Linked DNA regions of Homo sapiens: regions 2, 3, 4, 5, 6 and 7 are each linked to region 1. The links are contacts of gene promoters, found by promoter capture Hi-C in blood cells and fetal thymus (Javierre and others, 2016). All regions are on one chromosome and are shown on one strand. Each heading gives the region's core, a stretch centred on a gene start or on the middle of the fragment in contact. The rest is flanking DNA. Distances are from core to core; before and after follow the strand shown.

Region 1 (3,013 bases), core at 138-2,637:
AGTCGCTCGACAGAATGCAATATTAGGCGTGTGTATGCGCAAGTTTTAATTTTCCACTGGTGCTCCCACGTGAAGGCACATTTCTTAGTAAATGAACGGCAGCTAGGACAGTGCATATGTATGCATTTTCTATCTTTATTTTTTTTTTGTAAATGGGAAAGAATAGTGCACCTTCAACATGGACAACAGAATCTTGAGAAATGTTCTAGGTGGCAAGAAAAGTGGGAAATGAAGGATGACTTTTAGTTAAGGGAAGAAGGAAATCTGCAGTGAGCCAACCCTTCCCTCCCCCCCGCCCCCCCATTTCGGAAGCCCATGCTGTCGCCCTGAGTAATCTTGTTCCTGTCTATTAATGAATTAAGTTAAAAGGCTTAGACTGTAGACTTTAGCTACTGCATGAAGCAAAATAGTAAGGAAGCTCTTCAAAAAGCCTCCATTCATAGATAACCCCCCTTAAAAATGAAATTCTAATAAACGGAAAAACTACAAGTCGACACAATCAAAAGCAAATCCCAGCAAGAGCAGAAGGTACTTGAAACTCGAATCTGCATTCCGTTCCTCCCGTACAAGGCTCGGAGGTGGGGGAGGCGGTTTGTGCTGGTGCCTGGTGTATAATCGGGTTAATCCAGTAGACAAAGAATAAACCAATAGCCCTCCCACCTCACTTCCCGCTCCCCTTCCCCTCCCCCTTCTTCTCCCCCCGCCCCAGCCCCCGTCACCCGCTCCGCAAAGGGGAACAGAAAAGGGGAGAGGTAGACTTGAAATGGATTCTGGATAAAGTCTTAAAACCTGCAACTTGTTTTTCATGCTAACACTGCGTGGCCCAGATTAGTCTTAAATGTTCATTCCCCTTTCCTGGTGGCAAGGAGAAAGTTCCCTAAGTCAGCTCGAGCCTCTGGCTCGTCCTCATTGCCTCTGGGCAAACCTTAAGGTCAGTGTTTCCTTGAAACTAGATAAACTGACCCTGCAGTGCCCAGCCCGGCCCCGCGGGCGCCCCGCGTGACGGCGCTCGGGCGGCAGGACCGGCCTGGGGACGCGCGGGGCGGCGCGGTTGCCCTTTTGAATGCCTCCTGCGGCTCGGAGCGCTGGCGGGCGCTGGAGTGTGAGTGAATGTAGCCCCGCGGAGCCAATGAGCTGGGACCGGATGCGATATATCCTCTGGGACAACAACTGCTCTGTTCCGCCTCGGATCCACATGACGCCATTTACTGCTGCCGCGGCCGCCGCAGAGCTCCCTGCCTCCTCCGGAAAGGCGAGGGCGCAGGCCAACGGCGAGCCCCCCCCGGGCGGGCCCCAGACCCTCCTCCTCCTCCTCCTCCTCCTCTTCCTCCTCCTCCGCACCCACCGCCCCCGCCTCGGCCTCGCTGCCTCGCCTCCACAACGCCCAGTCTGCACCGCCGAGAGCTGCGCGCCGCAGCGCTAGCGGAGGAGAGGGGCCGGCGGAGCGCGCAGCGCCCAGGCCCCCGCGCCCGCCCGGCCCGGCCCGGCCCGCGCCCCCGCGCCGCCTCCGCTACGACGCGGCCCCGGCCGCACCACTTGGCGATCTGGCTTTAGGTTCTCCGTAAGGCCGTTTTCTTTTCCCATTCGCTCATCTGCCAGGAAAAGGGACTTGCCGTTGGCGCTTCGGCCTCTTGTTCATTGAGAAAAAAGAGGAAATACTCCGCGTGCGCTTGTAGAAGGGGAGTCGTCTCCAGCTCCGAACCCCGGAGTGTTCATCAGCGGGGAATCTGGCTCCGAATTCTCTTTTTTTCTCCCGCCGATTGCTCGGAAGTTGGTCTAAAGCAGAGGTTGGAAAGAAAGGAAAAAAGTTTGCATCGAGACTGGATTTATTTGCACATCGCAGAAAGAAGAGAATCCAAGGGAGAGGGGTTGGTGCAAAGCCGCGATCACGGTGAGGCACGTTTGGCTCTTCCCCTCCTGGCGCCGCGGCCGGCGCGTTGTGGGCAACATGGAGTAGGTGCAGCCGGACCAGGAGTTGGGTCCGTCTCTCCCCGAGCCTCCCTTTCTCAAATCCCGCAGGGTCTTCGCGAGGATCCGGGGCGCTCCCCGCGGACCTGCCTCGCCCGGGGCTTGGGCTCGGCCTGCCTCTGCGGGGACTTCTGTATGCACCCCGTGCAGTGTCCCCGACAGGCGACCCCGCGCGCCCGCGCTCTAGGGGGTTGGGACGGAGGACAGCTAGCCTGAAGTCTGCTCCCAGCCGTGCACTGGCCGCGAATTCGGCGCTGAGAGCGGGAGAGGGAGAGAAAAACACTTTGTATTTTCCAGGTTGCCTTTGCAGGCGCCCGCATTTCTAACCTGTTCTTCCTCTTGGTGGAAGGCAAAGTCCAGGGAGAGGCTGTCCCTAGGCGGGGCGCTGGTGGGGCTGGGGGACACAGGTTGCCCGCCTCGGGGGCAGGAGACTTCCAGGGTGAGAAAAAGGCAGGGTGCCGGGTGGAGGGAGTGCCCGCCTCTGCTCCGTGTGGACAGTCTAGCCCGGAGCGGGTGGGAGCGTCGCCCTGCCTGGCGCCGGGTCTCTGCGGTTCGGAAGTGCAGCTCTCTCTCTTCCGTTCTTCGTGGTCAGCCTGGGTCACACTTATTTTATTTTTGGAAGCTCGGGCTGACCCAGCGCAGGAAGAAAGTCATCAAGCGGTCGCGATCATTTTCCATTACCTGAAAGTAGGTGGCAAAATAGGCAATTTTTTATTTCCTTTTGTTGTTGTTGTTGCTGTGTTTTAATTTGGATTCTTGTGTGTTTTTTACAAAGCAGTTTCTGTGTCCGTTTGCCCCACCCTAGAGCTGAAGTTCTTTTCCCCTAATCCTCAGTCTGATCACACACTGTTCTTAATGGGGGTTTCAAAGCACTTTCAAAGGGGAGGGGGGACTGGGAAAGAGAAGAGGGGCGGAGGTAGGGAGTCCAGCTTTGAAGAAGGAGGCCAGGGATCGGATCGGCAGAAATCACTTAAAAAATAAAAACAAAAAAGCCCCCTTTTATTTCAAAGATGCTACTTTGACTGCAAGCAAATCTGCACCGAAA
Region 2 (3,013 bases), core at 187-2,686, 430 kb after region 1:
GGTGTAACCTAACTTTCTCTATTGTAAGTCTGTGCTAATTACCAGAAGGTCAAACAAATTGAACCTGTAGTTTATGACAGTTTTATAAATAAACATTTTATGTGTAATTGATCCCTAGTGTTCTTTGAAATGCCAATTAGGAAACTCTTGCTGCTTTATAGCCATTAGTCAGGGAAAGATGGACTGATGACTTCACAGTGGTGTGAGAATAGCTCACTGCCTTACTCCTAAAAGGCAAAGTTAAAAAGGGGCAAGGGACATCTTTCAGGTAAAAGAGGTGTATATGAAAATGAAAATCCAAGAACAACTGTCACAGCTGATAGCTAGGTAGCCACAGCACCCTTCTTGTAAGTGTCTTTGCACTGATTGCTTTGGGGGCCTGCCTTCTCCATTAAACCTTGGAGGTCAGAGATGACATCTTATTCATTTCCTTTTTCCTGGAATGTTCTGTGATGCTTAAATCAGATTAGGCACCTGTCATGCATTTACAGAATTAAACTGACAGCAAGTGATTTGGAACAACAGTACTTATAAAAATATACTCACTAACACTTAGATACTGAAGTTGAGTCTTACATTCAAAGTAAAATAGAGAAACACCGTATTTACCTAGGTATTTCTGGCCAGATTATACAGCTCATTTGTGGCAGAAAAAGATGACAAAAAGTATAAATATCTTAGAACATTTGTATTGTTCAAATGCAATGTTTATCTACACAATTTATTTTTTGAATCAATGTGGGGAACTTTACTAATATCCTGGGTAAATGTCACTACTTGGTTATAATCTGTTGAGGTGGTTTTGTATTCTTGGTTCTTCTGTCGTGAAAGTAATCCTCAGTGCTCTGGGTCATCTGGAATAACCGGGAATAACCCTGCCCTCAATGTTCTCATCCAAAACTTTGATAAAGTATTACATTCATGGCCAATGAAAGAATTCAGTGGTGCAAAAATTCAGAATTTCATTTAACTAATCAACAATCTTGGAATGTCGGTTTTCAGTCTCCAGCTATGTTCTCATCCAGCCTGGCTTTCTTTAATATACACAAGGATATACCAAGATCTTGTCAAATACTTGGCTGACAAAGATATATTTTGATTCTACTGTAATTGTAAGTCTACCGTTACTATGGTATCTGTCCCAAAGCTGACACTTACCTATTGCATAATAGAGCTAAAACAATCATGAAGATTGGCATGGTTAAGATTCTTATGAACAGAAAGATCAGTGCATGCCAGATAGGGTTCACACTGGACTACATACCTTCATAGACTTGTCTTCGCTGACATTAATACATTCACTGCCATTAAGCTTATATTTATTAAACATATGGCCAGTAACTTAGCTTCCTCAGTCTTCCTTGCCTTTGAGCTGTTGGGATGTGAATCGTATACTTAATATGCTTGTTTTGTAATGCCTTCGTTTTCCTCTGAAATGTCAAGTAAATTCCATAAAATACCTTTAGTTTATGGCTTTTGGATTTTTAAGCATAGCCCTTTGAAGTTATAGACAGATCATGGTGCCAGAGTGAATTAATTGGAACATTTCCCATAAGCTTTAAGAATATTTTAAAAACTAGAAAATTAAGTGAGAGAATCCCAGTATGTATGAGAATTTAATAAAGACAAAAATAGTAATTTATATATGTATATACACATATATTTAATCACATATTATATAAAATAACATGAATGTATGTATTTAAAAGAATTATAAAATGAAATTTATAAAAAAGGGACTAAGCATAGATACTATGTGAACAAGTCAAAATACCATTTCTAACAAATTGAAACTGTTAAACTAAATTAATTAAATAATTTCTGACACTGTCATGTCAGCTCTTACTATCACAATGTTTCAAAATTACAAAGTGCTTTCCCATTAGTTATCTCACATGAAACTCAAACCATGCCTATGATTAAACATAAGGATGAAAAACAAATATCAAGAATCACTGTCATATGCAACTTGCATCCAATTTTGTAAACTTAGCTCAAGAAATTGATAATGCTTTCAGGTTGAATTTCTAAAGTCATTTCCTAAAAGAAAAGATTAAATTATACACTTTTATTTAAAATTTATTACCATTTTTTAAGACCACGACATCTAAATGATGCTAAAAGCAAAGTATAGAAATGGAACACTTAGAGGCAAGAGGCTGGGCCTGAGAATTTCAGTATTCCACCCATGAAGCTGTGGGTCCTAACACGCTTTTAAAAAGACCCAGCTGAGCTGGGAATGGGAGAATCACAGCTTCTAATCTCAGCTTTACAGAGAACTTGCAATGTGACTTTGAGTAAATCACTTGACCTTTCTGAGCTTTTGATTCCCTATAGGTAATAATCCTGGCCTTATCTCCCTCATTGTTTCAAAAATAAAATGAGATGGATGATTTATGTGAAAGCACTTTGAAAAGTAAAATGTGCTATATTATTATTCAAACAAGGCATTATCCTCTCAAACCTACTTAGAAGGGGTTTGTAAATGAAATACTGCATATTAATGTGATCTTGGTCTTCAGAGAACTTGGGTTCTCTGGGCACCATTACAGTCTCAGCTATTTTTCAGCACAGCATAAATTATGTGCTCCAAACAAGTACTCAATACCCTTCAGAAGCCTGAGAGGCGAGTGTGAGGCTGCTTAGTGCCCCTAAAATAGGTACGACTGTACAGAAAGGAAGAGCGTTTAAGAAAACAGTGAACAGGCTCTGCCTGCCAAGTCTGTGCTTGAGCTGCAGTTTCTCATGTGCACGGGTGTTGAGAATAAAGAAAGCATGTCTAAAAACCCAAGTCTAGGCAGGAATTTCTATAGCCTCTGGTTATTTTACCGAGTTACTATAATAGATGCATGTCCATGCATAAGTGTGAATATACACAAACATGACATTATAAAAGGAGATAGCTTTGCCATGTTACACACCCAATTCACAAAATGGCATCAGTTCCTTAAGCCTTATTTGCTATTGTAATCGGGTCCTTCTGCAAGCATGTTTCATGCATTTTTAATCCTCG
Region 3 (3,013 bases), core at 312-2,811, 410 kb after region 1:
AGGCAGAGGTTGCAGTGAGCCAAGATTGTGCCACTGCACTCCAGCCTGGACAACAAGAGCGAAACTTGGTCTCAAAAAAAAAAAAAAAAAAAGGAAAGGAAAGAAAGAGTTTGAGGAAAAAAAAAAAAAGACTACAGAGAAATTTATACCTTAAGCTGAGAAAAACATAAAACTGTTATTCATTGAAAGAATGACATAGACTTATAAGAAACTAATAACCAGTTTGGGGTATTTGCTGTTTCTTTTCCAATAAAATGAATGCTATTTTTTCAGTCTCCTTCTCTCTCTTGACTACAAATAAAATAAAATAAAAAATGGCAGTGGGAAATGTTCATGGAAGAACCAGAAGGTGGAAGTTTGTGTGTTGGGGGGGTGGTGTTTAGAAATGGAGATGTCACTATGTTGCCCTGGCTGGCCTTAAATTCCTAGGCTTTTGATAATGCTTAAATGACTATGTGTTATATCATAAAATTGGAGATAATTATTTTCAGAAAAAAAATATGTAACAGGATAAGATTCCCAGGAGATTGCTGTTTTATCTAGAACACATTTTCAATGGGACGTCAGATGAGTGGGTAACAGGGCATTGGGGCTACCACGGAGTTCCAATGTGCCTTATGGAGCTAGACCCTGAAGGTGGTAGAAAGGGGAGTAACAGAGATCTCTCATGTGCCTTTGAGGATACCTGGGCCACCTGGCAAGAAGCCAGGTATTACTATTGGATGGAAAATGTCCTGAGGCTAGAAACAGCCAGTCCAACATCTAAGTCTAAGGTATAAGCCTAATTCAGGACACAGAAGCTTCCATGATAAACACTCTTAAGTTGGAAAAGCAGGCAGTAAGGGTGAGGCCATGGCTACCATCAGCTGGTACAATCTACCTGCAGCCATGCCTGACTGTCCACTCACACAGGACACATCTTTGGAGGGATGTGGCCCTTAGGTTTACCAGGTAGGAGAAAATACTAGAAAAGCACAGCTCCCTGGAGTAGTGGAATGAATCTATCATCAATACCATTCCTACAGTTATTCTGCAATTAACATGGTACAGTAGGCAACAATTAGGAAAAAAAAAAAAACTCTTAAAAAGAGCTTTATATTTTACATGCTCCAGACCCCACAAAACTCTAATTTACCCTTGGGATTACCATTTATGAGGTGGAAGTAGCAAAAGAGTTTTTGGCGAGAGAAGGGAAGTATACAATTGGTTTCTTGATATGCCTGGCTTGAAGCACTATAGAATTTAGGCAAAGCAGTCCATTTGATAGCTAAATATAGTCTCACTAGTAGGACTGAAAATCAATTCTTCTGATAAGTTCTGTACACTGGGGTACACAACTTTTGAACCACATCATATGTCTTTCATTTAACAAAGACAAGTGTAGAAACATTACACTTGATCTAGGCAGTCTTGCAAAAGTTAGTTGACAATTTCCAAGCCCTCATTATTTCATTTTGTGTGTGTGTCTTTAAAAACACATAATGCAAACAGAGATATGAAGACTGGTCTCACACTAAAGGAATTTCCTTTACTGCCAATAACTTCAGAAATAAGGAAGGAAGTATTGACTATCTTCAAAGCAGGTTCTTTATGCCATTTTCGAGTTGTGGGGACGGATTTATGCTCCTCCAGCATGCTTTTTCCCTTGACTCTTTTATAAATGAAGGCAGGTGTTCACAAGGCAGTAGACTAGGGTAAGATGTGCCCTTTGGCCATGGAGTACAGCAAAGCTATCTGTACTATAAGGGGGTTGTCGCACCTGTGCCTTGATCCTTCTTTAGCAGAGGTTTAGGACCCGTCGGCATACACTCCACATAGCGGTGTTCTGTTCAGTCTGAGGCTAGAACAGGGAGGCCCTGACATTACTATTTTTATCATGGTTCCTTGGTAATAACCATAAAGAAAGTACAGAACCATTATCCTCAAGGTAAAAATTAATGCACAAGAGGTACATAGTAGAGATTAAATTCAAATGAAGGACTTCTGAAACCCTGTCAGCCAGGCCAATAATATAACTCATAGACCATTTCACCTCCATACAGTTACTTTACAGCACTTGGGTGTTTTCTGTATGCTCCATTAAAATCCTACTCTGGTGGGAAAAACCAGATTTCCAACTGGTGATTTTATGGATTCAATAAAATTTAAGAAATTCTGCTTATGGAAAACCTCATTACCCAAAACTAATAAATAAGAGTTTACCCTGCAGTCTGGTTCCTCTTTATTTGACAGAATTAAAAATCACTCTGGAACAACTTAGTTCATTTTTCACTTGTTAATTGAGCTTAATAGTTTAGTAACTCCCTTTCTGTTCTAAGCTTGTGAACTCTTCATTCTTTCCGGCAGCACTTGCATTCTCTCACTCTTAACTTTACAGAGCATACATTTACAAAGAAGTTTAATAGAAATAAAGAGCACAGGCGAAGGGGGAAGAAATAAGAACATTTTATTTGGGGTGAAGCAATGACTTAAGGCTCAGCCCAGTCTTTGGGGATGGGTATCAGGTTGCACTACACTGTTAGAAGGATATTTTGTCAAAGCCTCAGGTGCAATGTCCACGTGAGGGACAATTTTATTATTGAATACATGTCACAGCAGATTTCCACTTATGTTTGGCATTTATAGAAATTGCAAAGAGCCAAAGTTGTGCCTGGAATGGACAAAACCTTTCAATCAATTTCACCTTCTGGCACAAAGATTTATTCTTTGGAAGGCTATTAATGTACAAATGTTTGCTTGTTTGTGTTTCCTGCAACACTTATCATATGTCTTTTTTAAGTAGGAATTTATTAAAAGCAACTTTGAATATGATGGTGTGTTACAATCTTTAGAATAAAGTGCAAAACTCAAAAGACAATACCAAAGTTGGTCAAGATACTTCTGTCACTCTTCAGTTTTCCATCCAACTCCTGATACATACTCCAACCATACCCGTTCTAGTCAGGTAACTAATTCCACATCCATCCTAGATTGTCTGTACCAACCCTGCCCACTATACAGGAAACAATCAGCC
Region 4 (3,013 bases), core at 324-2,823, 390 kb after region 1:
GCTTCATCTCATTTATTTGATCTTCAATCACTGATACCTTTCCTTCCACTTGATCGAATCGGCTACTGAAGCTTGTGCATGTAACACAAAGTTCTCGTGCCATGGTTTTCAGCTCCCTCAGGTCATTTGAGGTCTTCTCTATGCTGTTTATTCTAGTTAGCTATTTGTCTAATCTTTTTTCAAGGTTTTTAGCTTCCTTGCAATGGGTTCAAATATCCTTCTTTAGCTTGGAGAAGTTTGTTATTATCGACCTTCTGAAGCCTACTTCTGTCAATTCATCAAAGTCATTCTCCATCCAGCTTTGTTCCATTTCTGGTGAGGAGCTGTGCTCCTTTGGAGGAGAAGAGGCACTCTGGTTTTTAGAATTTTCAGCTTTTCTGCTCTGGTTTCTCCCCATCTTTGTGGTTTTATCTACATTTGCTCTTTGATGATGATGACCTACAGATGGAGTTTTGGTGTGGATGTCCTTTTTGTTGATGTTGATACTATTCCTTTCTGTTTGTTAGTTTTCCTTCTAACAGTCAGGACCCTCAGCTGCAGATCTGTTGGAGTTTGCTGGAGTTCCACTCCAGACCCTGTTTGCCTGGGTATCACCAGCAAAGGCTGCAGAACAGCAAATATTGCAGAACAACAAATATCGCTGCCTGATCCTTCCTCTGGAAGCTTCCTTTCAGAGGGGTACCCAGCTGTACAAGGTGTCATTTACTTATCATGGTTGATGTTGACCTTTGTCGTCTGATTGAGTTATTGCTTGTTAGATTTATCCACTTGAAATTACTCTTCCCTTTTCCACTCTTCATAGGTGGACTATAGAGCCAGGTTTTTGTAAGTTAAATGGATTATATTGCAGCTTTTAGAGTATAAGATTCATTGATATTACTGGAAAAAAATCCCTTGCTAAAATATTAAATAACAATGAATTGGCATAATTTTCCCAATTAAACTTCTGTTTGCTTTTCAAAATTTTAGAGGTGTTTCAGTAATTTGGCTCCATTTTCTGGCAAAAGTGGTATAAAAGGACATTCGCTAGTAAGGTCAGGTTGTTTTAATGAAGTTTTCTCATGTAATTCATACACAAACTATATGTAAAATCAGAAGAAATCAGATTTTATTTGTAGCAAAGCAAAATGATTATATTTTCCATATGCACTCAAAAATAAATAAAGTATACATAAAGAAAAGAAGAAATAATATATCTAAAACTTAATGGAAAATGTCTGGTCATAAGAGCTACATAATGGAGTGTTTTCTATACTATAGATCATTTTTATCATCATCATAAACAACACTCATAACAGGCATTATTCAAATAAAATGAAATTAAATTGGAAAGAGCATAATATCACTAAACCAAAATTTTGAAGATTTGAAGAAATAACTCTATATCTTTCCTTTTATAAATTCTCTTAACATCTCTTTTGCTACTTTAGTTCTTTTTCTCTTTTCATTTAAATTCTATCTTTAATGAGAGTTCAAATGTTCACATCTTAACAATAGATTTAAAGAGTTGTCACCATCATTAAGGGGTCCCAAATGTCCAAACTTCTGTCTGGGATAAAATTGAAATAAGGTTTTAAACTCTTATTTTATTTTCTATTTGGTTTTAAGTAATATAACATTAGCAAAACTCTTACATTGGTGTGAAACCACAGTAGGATTAAGAAGCAACTCAGATGGGCAAGTTCCAAGTGCTCCACTCTGAAAGGTCAATAAACATTACTGGACATTACTGGAATAAATCAGGGATATGGTGGCAGTTAATAAAGGCTTTCTCATTCAACTTCTAAAATAACCAGAGAAATAGAAATTATATTGAATGGAAATAGATTTTTTTAAAGCCCTTGCAGATATGCTCTTGATCAAGAGCGCCAAACTCTCTGAAGTCAGCTAGCATATAGTCATACAAAGTCAGCAGTTTCAGCAGAATTTCTGAAAAGTAATCATGGATGTCAAGCCCATTTTACAAGGAAAAAGTTATTTGTGATTACCTAAATTTTAGGAATTAGAATGCCTCCCAATAAGTTGTATTATGATGGGAAACAGCATGTAACAAAATATGTGATAAATTCCTTATTTTGCTTCATTTATTTATAATATTTGTGAATATTAAGTAGGATTAATGTACATGATATAAGATAGAAATGCACTATATGGCGTACAATGAAAAATCTCTCATTTTCCCCTGTGCCTCAAAAACCATTCCACTCCTCAAAGACAACCAGTTTTCATAAACTTCAGGAGATATTCCATTCATTTCTAAAATTATCCACAGAAATATTATTCCACATAAATGGGAAAATGCTATATATGTTGTTCTGCACCTTGTAATTTTTTTCCCTTAAAACATCTTGGAAAACTTTCCATATCACAAATACAGAATTTCATATTTTTTAAATGGTTTATAAGGCATTGCATTGTGTGGTAGAATGATAATTAATATATTAACTCTCACTGATGTACATTTTAGTTGTTTATAAGCTTTGACATTATAACTGATGTTCCAATTAATCTTCATCATACATCATCTCAAATGTATTCTTAAAATACTTGTTAAAACTACCCTATTGTGTATAATTTTCACTAATTGAAAACCAGCTTTTCATTAGACTTTAAGTAAATATGAAACTTATTTTCATAGAATATCAGTTTAAACAAGTAGATAAGGAGTTAATTTACTAAGGGCCCCCACAAGCCACAATTTTGACTTGGGTTTTTAGTGTTTTTCCTAAGATAGTTTACATATTCAGAGACACCAATCAAGATACAAGGTCAGAAAAAAAAGAGGGAGTTTTTAAAATTATGAATTTATTTATATGAAGGTTTTTAAACATTATGCAAACTGTCTCACTTATACATTTAAGAAATGATCAACTTCTTGAAATTAAAACTTTACCAAAAATTCCAAGGCTTATGATTACCATTCACATAGAAATGAAATGGGTAAGATCAATGGCAGCACTTACCATTATGGGATATGAGAAAGATTGCTCTATTTTACCCACGTGGGATTAGA
Region 5 (3,013 bases), core at 145-2,644, 370 kb after region 1:
TAGCAACAAAGAGCAGACAAGCCACAGAGTTGTCCACCGAGGACTGGATGAAGAGGCTCTGCCTGGGGCCCATTTTGGTGGTGGCCACCGGAGGGGTGTATACAAGGCCTGCAGCCACACTATGGCATGGAACCAAATGTTCAAAGTCTAAATGAGCTGAAGGTCATGAGCCCTGTGACAAAGGTGTGAAAAGGAAACAGATTGTGTTCCTGTGGGCTCAGGATAGGAACTGGTGCGCCCCTCCCTGCACCATCCCCAGAGACCTCAGTGCACTCCAACACAGTCTCCTCTGACCACTCCCATCGGGGTGGGAACTTCCACTCATTATTAGTTTTCCTGAGTTGGCTCTTACTCTTAAGCACCACCTACTGGACTGGAGGCTAAACTGCACCACTAAATAAAAAAAAAAAAAATCTGCCAGAAGGGCTTAGTGCTTAGTGGATGAGATAAGCTTTCTGAGACCTCCACATCCTCAGCCATGCACGAGACAGCATGTTGGCTCTTATGTCCAATACATCACTACAACAAGCAACATCTGAGAAAGCCACCACATAGAAGCTATCCACAACCAAGGAACCCATACAGAGCTTTGACCCCATGAAAGCACCCAGAAATTAAACCAATCATACGTAACATACAACACAGTCATATTCTCAAGGGAAAAAAGAATAAAAATTTTAAAAGTCCCATTCAAAGAATAGCAAATTCAAAAATAAGAAATAACAGCTCCCTTAGATGAAAGGGAATCAGTGCTTGAACTTCAGCAATACAAAAAGACAAGTTGTCTTGACAGCTCCAAAGGATTGCACTAGCTCTCTAGCAATGTGTCCTAACCAAAATGAAAAGTCTGAAATAAACTGAAATCTACATTTTGATAAAGAATTCAAAATGTAGATGACAAAGAAACTCAACAAAATCCAAGAGAAAGTTGAAAATAGAAACAAAGAAACCAGAAAAAAATGATTCTGGATATGAAACACAAGATAGCTATATTTTAAAAAAAGCAAATAGAACTTTGAAATTGAAAAATATTCACTAAAGAACTTCAAAATATAATTGGAAGCTGAAACAATAGACTAGATCAAGCAGAAGAAAGAATTTCAGAGCTTGAAGACCAACCTTTCAAATTAACCCAGTCAGACAAAAATAAAGAAAAAATAATTTTAAGAAATGAACAAAGCTTTTGAGAAATATGAGATTATGTAAAATGACCAAACCTATGACTTACTGGCATTCTTGAAAGAGAAGAAAAAATAAGCAACTTGGAAAACATATTTGAAGGAATAATTCAGGAAAATTTCCCTATTCTTGCTAGAGAGTTCAACATCCAGATACAAGAAATTCAGAGAACACCTGCAAGACACTATACAAAATGACCATCCCCAAGGCAAAAAGTAATGAGATTATCCAAGGTCAATGCTGAAGAAAAAATCTTAAAGATAACTAGAGAAAAGGGCCAGATTACCTACAAAAGAAATCTCATCCCACTAACAGCAAACTTTTAAGCAGAGACCTTACAAGCCAGAAGAGATTGGAGGCCTATTTTTAGCCGTCTTAAACAAAAAGAAAATTAGCCAAGAATTTTATATCCTGCCAAACTAAGCTTCATAAATGAAGGAGAAATAAAGTCTTTCCCAGGCAAGCAACTGCCAAGGGAATTTATCACTACCAGACCAGTTCCACAAGAAATGCTCAAAGGAGCTCTAAATAACACCAAAAGGACAATACTTACCAACCATAAAAGCACACATAAGTACAAAGTTTACAGATCCTATAAAGCAATTACACAATTGAGACTACAAAGCAACTAGCTGACAACACTATGACTTCACATATCAATATTAACCTTGAATATAATGACCTAAATACTTCGCTTAAAAGACATAGATTGACAAAATGGATTTTTAAAAATGATCCAATTATCTACTTCCTTTAAAAGACCCATTTCATATATAATAATACCTACAAGATCAAAGCAAAGGGATGGAGGAAGATCTATCATGCATATTGAAAACAAAAAAAAAGAGCAGGGATTGCTATTCTTTTATCGGATAAAACAGACTTTAAACCAAAACCAGTGGAAAAAAAATACAAAAAAATGGCATTATACAATTATAAAAGATTCAATTCAACAAGAAGATTTAACTATCCAAATATAGAAAACATATCTGAGTGAATAACTCAGGAATATCCTGAGTATGCACCCAACATCAGAGCACCCAGATTTATAAAACAAATACTACTAGACTTTAAAAAAAGAGATAAGCATACAATAATAGTTGAGGACTTCAACACCCTACTGACAGCACTAGACGGATCATTAAGGCAGAAAACTAATAAACTGAGGACATAAATTGTACTCTTGACCAAATGGACATAATAGACACCTATGGAACATTCCACCTACCAATGCAGACTATACATATTTCTCAGCTGTGCATGGAACATTCTCTAAAATAGACCATATGCTTGGTCAGAAAGCAAGTCTTAATAATGTCAAAACATTGAAATCATATCAAGCATCGTCTCAGACCACAGTAGAATAAAATTAGAAATCAACACCAAGAGGAACTCTCAAAACCACACAAGTACATGGAAATTAAACAGTTTGCTCCTGAATAACGTTTGAGTAAACAAAAATTATGGCAGAAATCAACATTTTTTAAAAACCAATGGAAACAGAGACACAACATACCAAAACCTCTGGAATACAGCAAAAGTAGCTAAGAGGAGATTACAGCACTAGATGCCTACATCTACAATATAGAAAGATATTAAATTAACAACTTAATATTGCATCTAAAGGAACTGAAAAACCAACATTCAAACAAGCAGAACCAGAAATGATAAAGGTGTCATTAAAACTCATTCCACAGAAATACAAAAGATCCTTAGGGACTACTATGAACATCTCTATGAGCACAAACTAGAAAACATAGAGTAAACGAATGAATTCCTGGAAAGATACAACCACTGAAGACTGAACCAGGAAGAAATTGAAATCCAGAACAGA
Region 6 (3,013 bases), core at 192-2,691, 350 kb after region 1:
AGGGAGAAATAGTGGAGGGGGAGGGAGTTGCCCACCCCCACTGAAAATGCATCTGCATATTTAAATGTGCCAGTAAAGAAAGACGTTAAAAATAAAGAGTGAGAGGGAATAATCAGATTTCAGCCTGTAAGAAGAGGGAAAAGGAAGAAAATATTTTTCATTTTGACAGGGAAGAGAAGGAAACTATTGAGTTGTATAAAAGTAAATTGAGAAAATTACTGTTGCATTATTTGTTTTCTCTATTAAATAGAAGATCACGGGCTAATAGCTGAGGGGGCTTCTGGGGTGGGGTGATGGACTTTTGAGAGGCATAGGTATTGTTGAAATACTACATGGAATCATTGCTTGTTGACCAGGAAAAATATAGTAGTGCATTAGAGAGCCACAAGTGCCCCATCAAAATGAAAGACATAAATATGTAGTGGACCAATTCTGACCACTGTATGATTTTTCTCTTGAAATGTCAGTGAGCTGCATGCAAAAGCAGAGAATGTAGCAGTAGAATGTATTAAGGTTTGTAGGGTTTTCTCCAATGAGGAATGGCGGAATGACCACAGAATAGAGGTTTTAGCAAACTGGTAAACAAAAGGATGAAGTAATGGCATGACTAAGGAGCTAAGTAAAGACAGGAGGGACCTAATGGGGAGAGGGACAAGGGACTCTATAAAATAAAGCACTAAAGTCAAAGAGCTGGTGTTGGGAACAATAAAGTGAGAGAGATGGTGAGGAATGCATGGTTAAGAATGACTGTGACTACTTTATTTGAGAGATGGTGCAATCTGCATGTGATAAGATCTAGGGTGTGACCATGGAGTGGGTGCCTGGGGTGGCGGAAAATTCTGGAAGCTGAAGCAGGCAAGGAACCTTGAGGCAAAGTTGTCAGTTGGAGTCACCCAGGATGGTGTCAAGCCAGAGGGTGGAGAGAATGACTGCCGGCCAGGTGCCTAGGTCTTCCAAGAGATTACTACCATATCATCAGCAAATAGGCGAGAAGTAAAAAGTCAAAAGCTTCCCACAAAGGCAAAACATATTAAGGCAATTACCTGAATGATTTGATTAAAATCCTTGTCCTGGTTTTCTAGGAAAAAGAAACTTAGCCTGTTTTGGCATAAATGAATTTACGTGAGAATTTACAATGTCTCAAACCATTTTTCCTGTTTGAATAGTTAGCCACTAGTAGTTTACCTCTGGTCCCAACTGGCCATTAGCCTGAGGATGGATTAACATTGGACTTACTGCCAATGAATGTGCAGAAAGAAATCCTCTCAACGTTCTTCTCTGTTGGGTTGGCCAAATCACAAAGAAAGAGCTTGCAGTAGAGAGTCTGGAATGGAGAATATGCAATGACACTAAAAGTATCTCTGCATTTTACTCTCTGAGTCTGAACATTGCTTGTTCACATCAGCTCCGTGGCCCCATGACTCAGCCCTGTCGTAAAAGAGTATTTTTTTAAATAGTGATAATACTTTGTACTGTTTAATGTACTCTGTAAGGCAAGATAAACTAGCAACTTCCTTGCCCTCCAGGAGCTAACAATTGTGTGCCTATATTTAGCTGTCTAAAATCATAGATTAAACCATTTAAACTTCTTTATATGAACTAAGTATAAGTAAATTAATAAGTGCTTTCAAGTGGTGATAAACAGGGGAATTCTTAAGGAAGGCTCATCAGAAATATTGCCATCTATCTTATTCCAATACAGGGAATTATAGCATCTACTTTCTAAGCACGTGTACCCAGAGCTGAGGAAAACACCAAAAGAAGGCACACACATTGTATGTTCACTGAGGACACTTACAGTCTTGTTTGGAACATATATATAATACATATGGAACATTCATAAAATATAAGATGTATCAACTATTGAAAGCTTCTGAAATAAATAAATGGTATTTTTATTATAGGAAGGGTACCTCTGTTTGCTCAAAGATGGGTGAGATGGCTCTTGTTATTGTGTAGCTCACAGTATATGGGAGAAAGCAGATGTGTGTACAGGTAAGCTACACTATGTCATATGCAGAGACTTGTGGGCCAGAGAGGAGAAATCATTTACAGGGGCAGTTAAGAACATTCTCAAAGAGTAGGTGACCTTGGAACCAAGTCTAGAAGGCATTGTAGAAACTTGCTAAGGTGGGAGAGGGAAGGTGAAAGATGGGCCTTCCAGGTATGAGCCTCCTCTGAAGTTGCTTCCTCTGACTAACATCACTCTAAATGACTCTCTTGCTCTGTAATCCATAGTTAATTAAATATTTTTGGAACTAGAAGGATGAAACTCCAGAGATTCTATGATTCAGAAATTCAGTGGTGAAAACTGAAATCCAAAACAAAAGAAGTGTTTATTAGAGCTCCTACAGCTCAAAGGGGATAAATTGAAACTAAGCAATGTCTGTGGAATAAATAATTGCACAGGCTAACCAGCGCTGGGACCAAATCTGTAGAGGAAGGAAATAAAAATAAGTGCTAAGGGCAAAAATTCAACTCTGAATAGTATCTCCAGTGGTTATGGCAATACTTATTCTTACTGCTCTTAGCATTCTGCTCAATGCCATTCAATGCCATAGTAATTAAATGAGACAACTTGGTTAAACTAAGCTTAATTGTTCTATTGCCTTGTACAAATATTCTGTGCTTGTTTATGGTATTTTTGAAATTGCAACTGAGTCATTTACCTTGGGTGTGGACCCCAAGCCCACAGTGAGCAATTGTTTATTGGGAGGGACAGGCAAGGCAGAGTCATGCTTCACAATGAAACCTCTGCTGTCTCAGAGGCTGACAATCAGGATTTCACTATTTTAGTTTGTAGGACAGAGTGAGAACCAGATGTACCAGAACATAACAAAAATATCCCCGATGATCTTTTTTTTCTTTGCAAAATGGGAAAATCCAAACCTTGTCTATTGTAAGTCATCAATAGCCAAAATTGATGGGACTCCACAGATACTGCAGATAAATGTGAATATTTTAAAAGGAGGCAGGGTGACTTCTGCCTTTGTTCTGGCATGTAAGGAGCTTA
Region 7 (3,013 bases), core at 157-2,656, 330 kb after region 1:
CTTTGCTTGCCTCAAGAGCTTATGCTGTTTTCATTATTCTATGCTGCCACTTAGTGACTAGTAAGTTTCGTCCCTACTGAAAGCACACTGTATATTATCAGGGAGAGACAACAAAAACCCAACCCATTACCCTTGATAGCTGACCCCAGTAATCTTTCAATTGACCTATGTATTTGTTTTTTTATTTGGAAAATAAAGATGCCATTACCTACTCTCCTTTGCTAATATGCTATTCAAATACTCAGTATAGTATATTATCATTTCTATATTATAGATTTCATCTATTATCTCTTTTGATCTTCAAAATAGAACAAATGTGACCTAATGGAAAGCACATTGAATTTCTATTTCCACTAACGTGAAAACATTGCTTAAGTTAATGAAATTCTTTGAGTCTCAGTTTAGTTACCTATAAAACTAGAGGGTAAAACTAGGTGTTCCCTCTGGCTCTTTTACTTGCTTTTTGTGTGAAAAAAAATTTAAAATATATTTATTTATTAATTTGTTAAAATATTAATTAACCTATTACATGTAGCTGTAAGTAATGCATTCTTTCAATAATCTTAGAAAATATAAATAAAGTTGCATAGGGATTATTCTAAATTTTAAGTGTGATAGCGGCCAAGAGAAAACAAATAATTTCTTCCAAGGACACCCAGAAAATAAATGATGAAATTCTAGGTCCCAGATCTTTAACTCCTAACACAAGTTTCTTTTCATTTTACCAAACTACACATTATTCTGATGGGCAAAGACACATTAATGATCTTGATGTGAATAATAATCTAACTAAGCAGATGATTGCTTTTGCCTTTAGGTAGATTGATAAACTTCAAAGCAATTAGCACCTATAATTGCTAAACTGAGAGCTAAGTGGCACTGGTGACCTGCCAAAAGAAAACAGTTGGCATAAGCTTTGTGAGTTACGCTTCATCAGTAAGCTTCATTTTAATCCAGTAAGGTCCACCCTGCCTGTCCCTGAATTGCCCTCTCGAGGCAAGTAACAAGTGTCACATTTCTTTTGAAATGGCTGGCACTGCTATGGTATCAGTTATCACACAATATTCCAAAAAGCAATTGTGATCTCGAGCTGTAAGGCACTGGCATCCACTTGGAAAAAATGAAGTTTAATGTTAAGCATCTGGCAGTTTCCATCATTGCTGGAAGTAACAAAAAGATCCAGAAGTCACCTGAGCTGTCTCTGAGTACTGTGAAAATGTCACTCGATATTTAAACTGCATGAGAAGTCACAAAACCTCAGGTTTCACAAAAGCAGAGCCTCAACTATCAAAGCTGTCAGGTCTTCAGAGATTGTCTAGTTTAATAATCTTATTTTATAATAAAGAAATTTGTCACCATTTGTGTGAGCAGAGGAAGAAGGACTCGGAGCGAGCATCTTCATTAGTTATTTTGTAGGGAACTATAGAAGTAAACAGATACTTGATAAACTGCAACCGCACTAGAGGCACCATGCATTTGCTAAATGCATGTTTATGTTTTTCCATAAAAATCCAAACTATTTAGGCTTTACTTCATATATAAGTATCCCAGCCTTTAAAAATGTTGGAAAGCAATAGAGGTAATATTAATAAAATGCAGCATCCCTGGCTTTCCTTTATTATTTTAGCCACATCCTGGTCAGATACAATTGTTCGCTGGCTCCTCTGATTCATCCTTCACACTGTCATCACTGACAATAACCTTCCAAAACAATTTTTCTTCCAAAAACAGTCCCAGCAAGGCAACCTGTGTTTTTCTCATAACGTTTTCTCCCCTGTCTTCATCCTGACAATCAATTTTCCCCAGTTGCTCTACAGCGCGATCACCAGTTTTGTTTTTGGTTTGGATAGTGACAAGAGTGCAAAAGCTTTTGGAGAAATTAATGAACTCTCTTTTGGACCTGTTTCAATAGGAGAACAATAATAATTTTAGAGAACAAAATGCTATAATTGTCAAAGTTATGCCATGGAAGCTTCTCTATGCCATGCGTATCCTCAGTTCCTAAGCCTTCTCTGTCCAGCCATACCTAATCATACCTGCATGCACCTTGTTCCCACAGTGATCCTCCATTCATAGCTCCAGTTGGGTGGAAAATGATGGGGAGCATCATAGCTAGCCCAGGGAGTCAGTCTTTCAGAACGAAGGAGAAGAAATTGCTGCTGATGTCAGTTCCTAAGAAGGACCTAAAGCTATTTGGTGTGGCAAGAAAAATATGATTTTCTTGAGTGACCTCTTGAATAAGTCTCATCACTCTCTAGGCCTAACATACATAACCAGAACATAAGTCCTTTTTCAGGCCCGAGACAAACTGACAAGATACCTGGCTCTTCCCCTTCCACTCTTCAGACAGCATGATATTATTTTTTGTGGCCTTTCTCTTTCGAGACTGTCCTCGATATTCAGTACATATAACCTGAACCCACTTGGACAAAAACATGGCTTAGAAGGCACTCAGAAGGTTGCTATCCTGAATCCAGGGTCTTTCAGGGAGAAAGTAGGCTGCAAAACTTAATAAACAAAGAGTCATTTGATGTAATTGAAGAGACAGAAGTTATATCAAGCCAGCACAGAAGAGAAAATATGAGCTTGCTGTTTCTTAGAAAGAGCATAAAACATTGGCAGCAAAAGTCTTGTCTCCTGGTTAATGAATTAATGAATAAAGGAAATAATCACAAATGGACCCTAGATCCAAGTGACCACATCATAATTCACTCATTTGTACATGATGGATAAATGACCTGTTTTATGATTGAGACATTCCCAAAAGTAACATTAAAGTACTGAACATTTATAAGGATTATTCATTCTATGCAAAGATAATGCATAGAACCAACCAACCAACCAACAGCAGTCTGAAATGTTTTCAGTAGGAAGAAAAAATTTGCAATGTAACAAATAAAAACATTTTAAAGGTGCTGACCTACAGCTATGAAGCAGATAACATTTTCTGAAGTTTTAACCTCCTTAGTTGGAGTTCTCAACGGTCATCCCTTACACAGCAATTCACATATTG

Evidence for each region. The method cuts DNA at HindIII sites, captures the fragments that hold promoters and counts their contacts. A CHiCAGO score of 5 or more calls a contact.
Region 2: a contact is called between a fragment that was not itself captured here and the fragment with the promoter of SPRY2 in region 1, in 3 of 17 cell types (M0 macrophages, M2 macrophages and M1 macrophages). The highest score is 6.5, in M0 macrophages.
Region 3: a contact is called between a fragment that was not itself captured here and the fragment with the promoter of SPRY2 in region 1, in 2 of 17 cell types (endothelial precursors and M0 macrophages). The highest score is 7.1, in endothelial precursors.
Region 4: a fragment that was not itself captured here is called in contact with the fragment with the promoter of SPRY2 in region 1 in 3 of 17 cell types (M2 macrophages, M1 macrophages and neutrophils); the score reaches 7.1 in M2 macrophages.
Region 5: a fragment that was not itself captured here is called in contact with the fragment with the promoter of SPRY2 in region 1 in 6 of 17 cell types (M2 macrophages, M0 macrophages, erythroblasts and 3 more); the score reaches 9.4 in M2 macrophages.
Region 6: a contact is called between a fragment that was not itself captured here and the fragment with the promoter of SPRY2 in region 1, in 4 of 17 cell types (M0 macrophages, M1 macrophages, M2 macrophages and 1 more). The highest score is 8.7, in M0 macrophages.
Region 7: a fragment that was not itself captured here is called in contact with the fragment with the promoter of SPRY2 in region 1 in 5 of 17 cell types (M0 macrophages, monocytes, M1 macrophages and 2 more); the score reaches 9.4 in M0 macrophages.

Annotation. Positions count from the first base shown.
Region 1 is chr13:80,339,500-80,342,512 of GRCh38, reverse strand. It overlaps SPRY2 (sprouty RTK signaling antagonist 2), which reads left to right and starts at 1,387. Exons shown (of 2, transcript NM_005842.4): 1 at 1,387-1,891. RefSeq lists silencers at 970-1,019, 1,250-1,439. The HindIII fragment of the contact is 9,098 bases long and covers 1-3,013 here.
Region 2 is chr13:79,910,754-79,913,766 of GRCh38, reverse strand. It overlaps LINC00382 (long intergenic non-protein coding RNA 382), which reads right to left. Exons shown (of 6, transcript NR_120413.1): 3 at 1,265-1,372. Among named protein-coding and RNA genes, the nearest start is that of LINC00382, 40 kb to the right of the region's middle. The HindIII fragment of the contact is 244 bases long and covers 1,315-1,558 here.
Region 3 is chr13:79,931,276-79,934,288 of GRCh38, reverse strand. No RefSeq gene overlaps it. Among named protein-coding and RNA genes, the nearest start is that of LINC00382, 60 kb to the right of the region's middle. The HindIII fragment of the contact is 1,518 bases long and covers 803-2,320 here.
Region 4 is chr13:79,948,742-79,951,754 of GRCh38, reverse strand. No RefSeq gene overlaps it. Among named protein-coding and RNA genes, the nearest start is that of LINC01080, 61 kb to the left of the region's middle. The HindIII fragment of the contact is 1,815 bases long and covers 666-2,480 here.
Region 5 is chr13:79,970,972-79,973,984 of GRCh38, reverse strand. No RefSeq gene overlaps it. Among named protein-coding and RNA genes, the nearest start is that of LINC01080, 39 kb to the left of the region's middle. The HindIII fragment of the contact is 423 bases long and covers 1,183-1,605 here.
Region 6 is chr13:79,987,151-79,990,163 of GRCh38, reverse strand. No RefSeq gene overlaps it. Among named protein-coding and RNA genes, the nearest start is that of LINC01080, 22 kb to the left of the region's middle. The HindIII fragment of the contact is 862 bases long and covers 1,011-1,872 here.
Region 7 is chr13:80,005,803-80,008,815 of GRCh38, reverse strand. No RefSeq gene overlaps it. Among named protein-coding and RNA genes, the nearest start is that of LINC01080, 3.8 kb to the left of the region's middle. The HindIII fragment of the contact is 926 bases long and covers 944-1,869 here.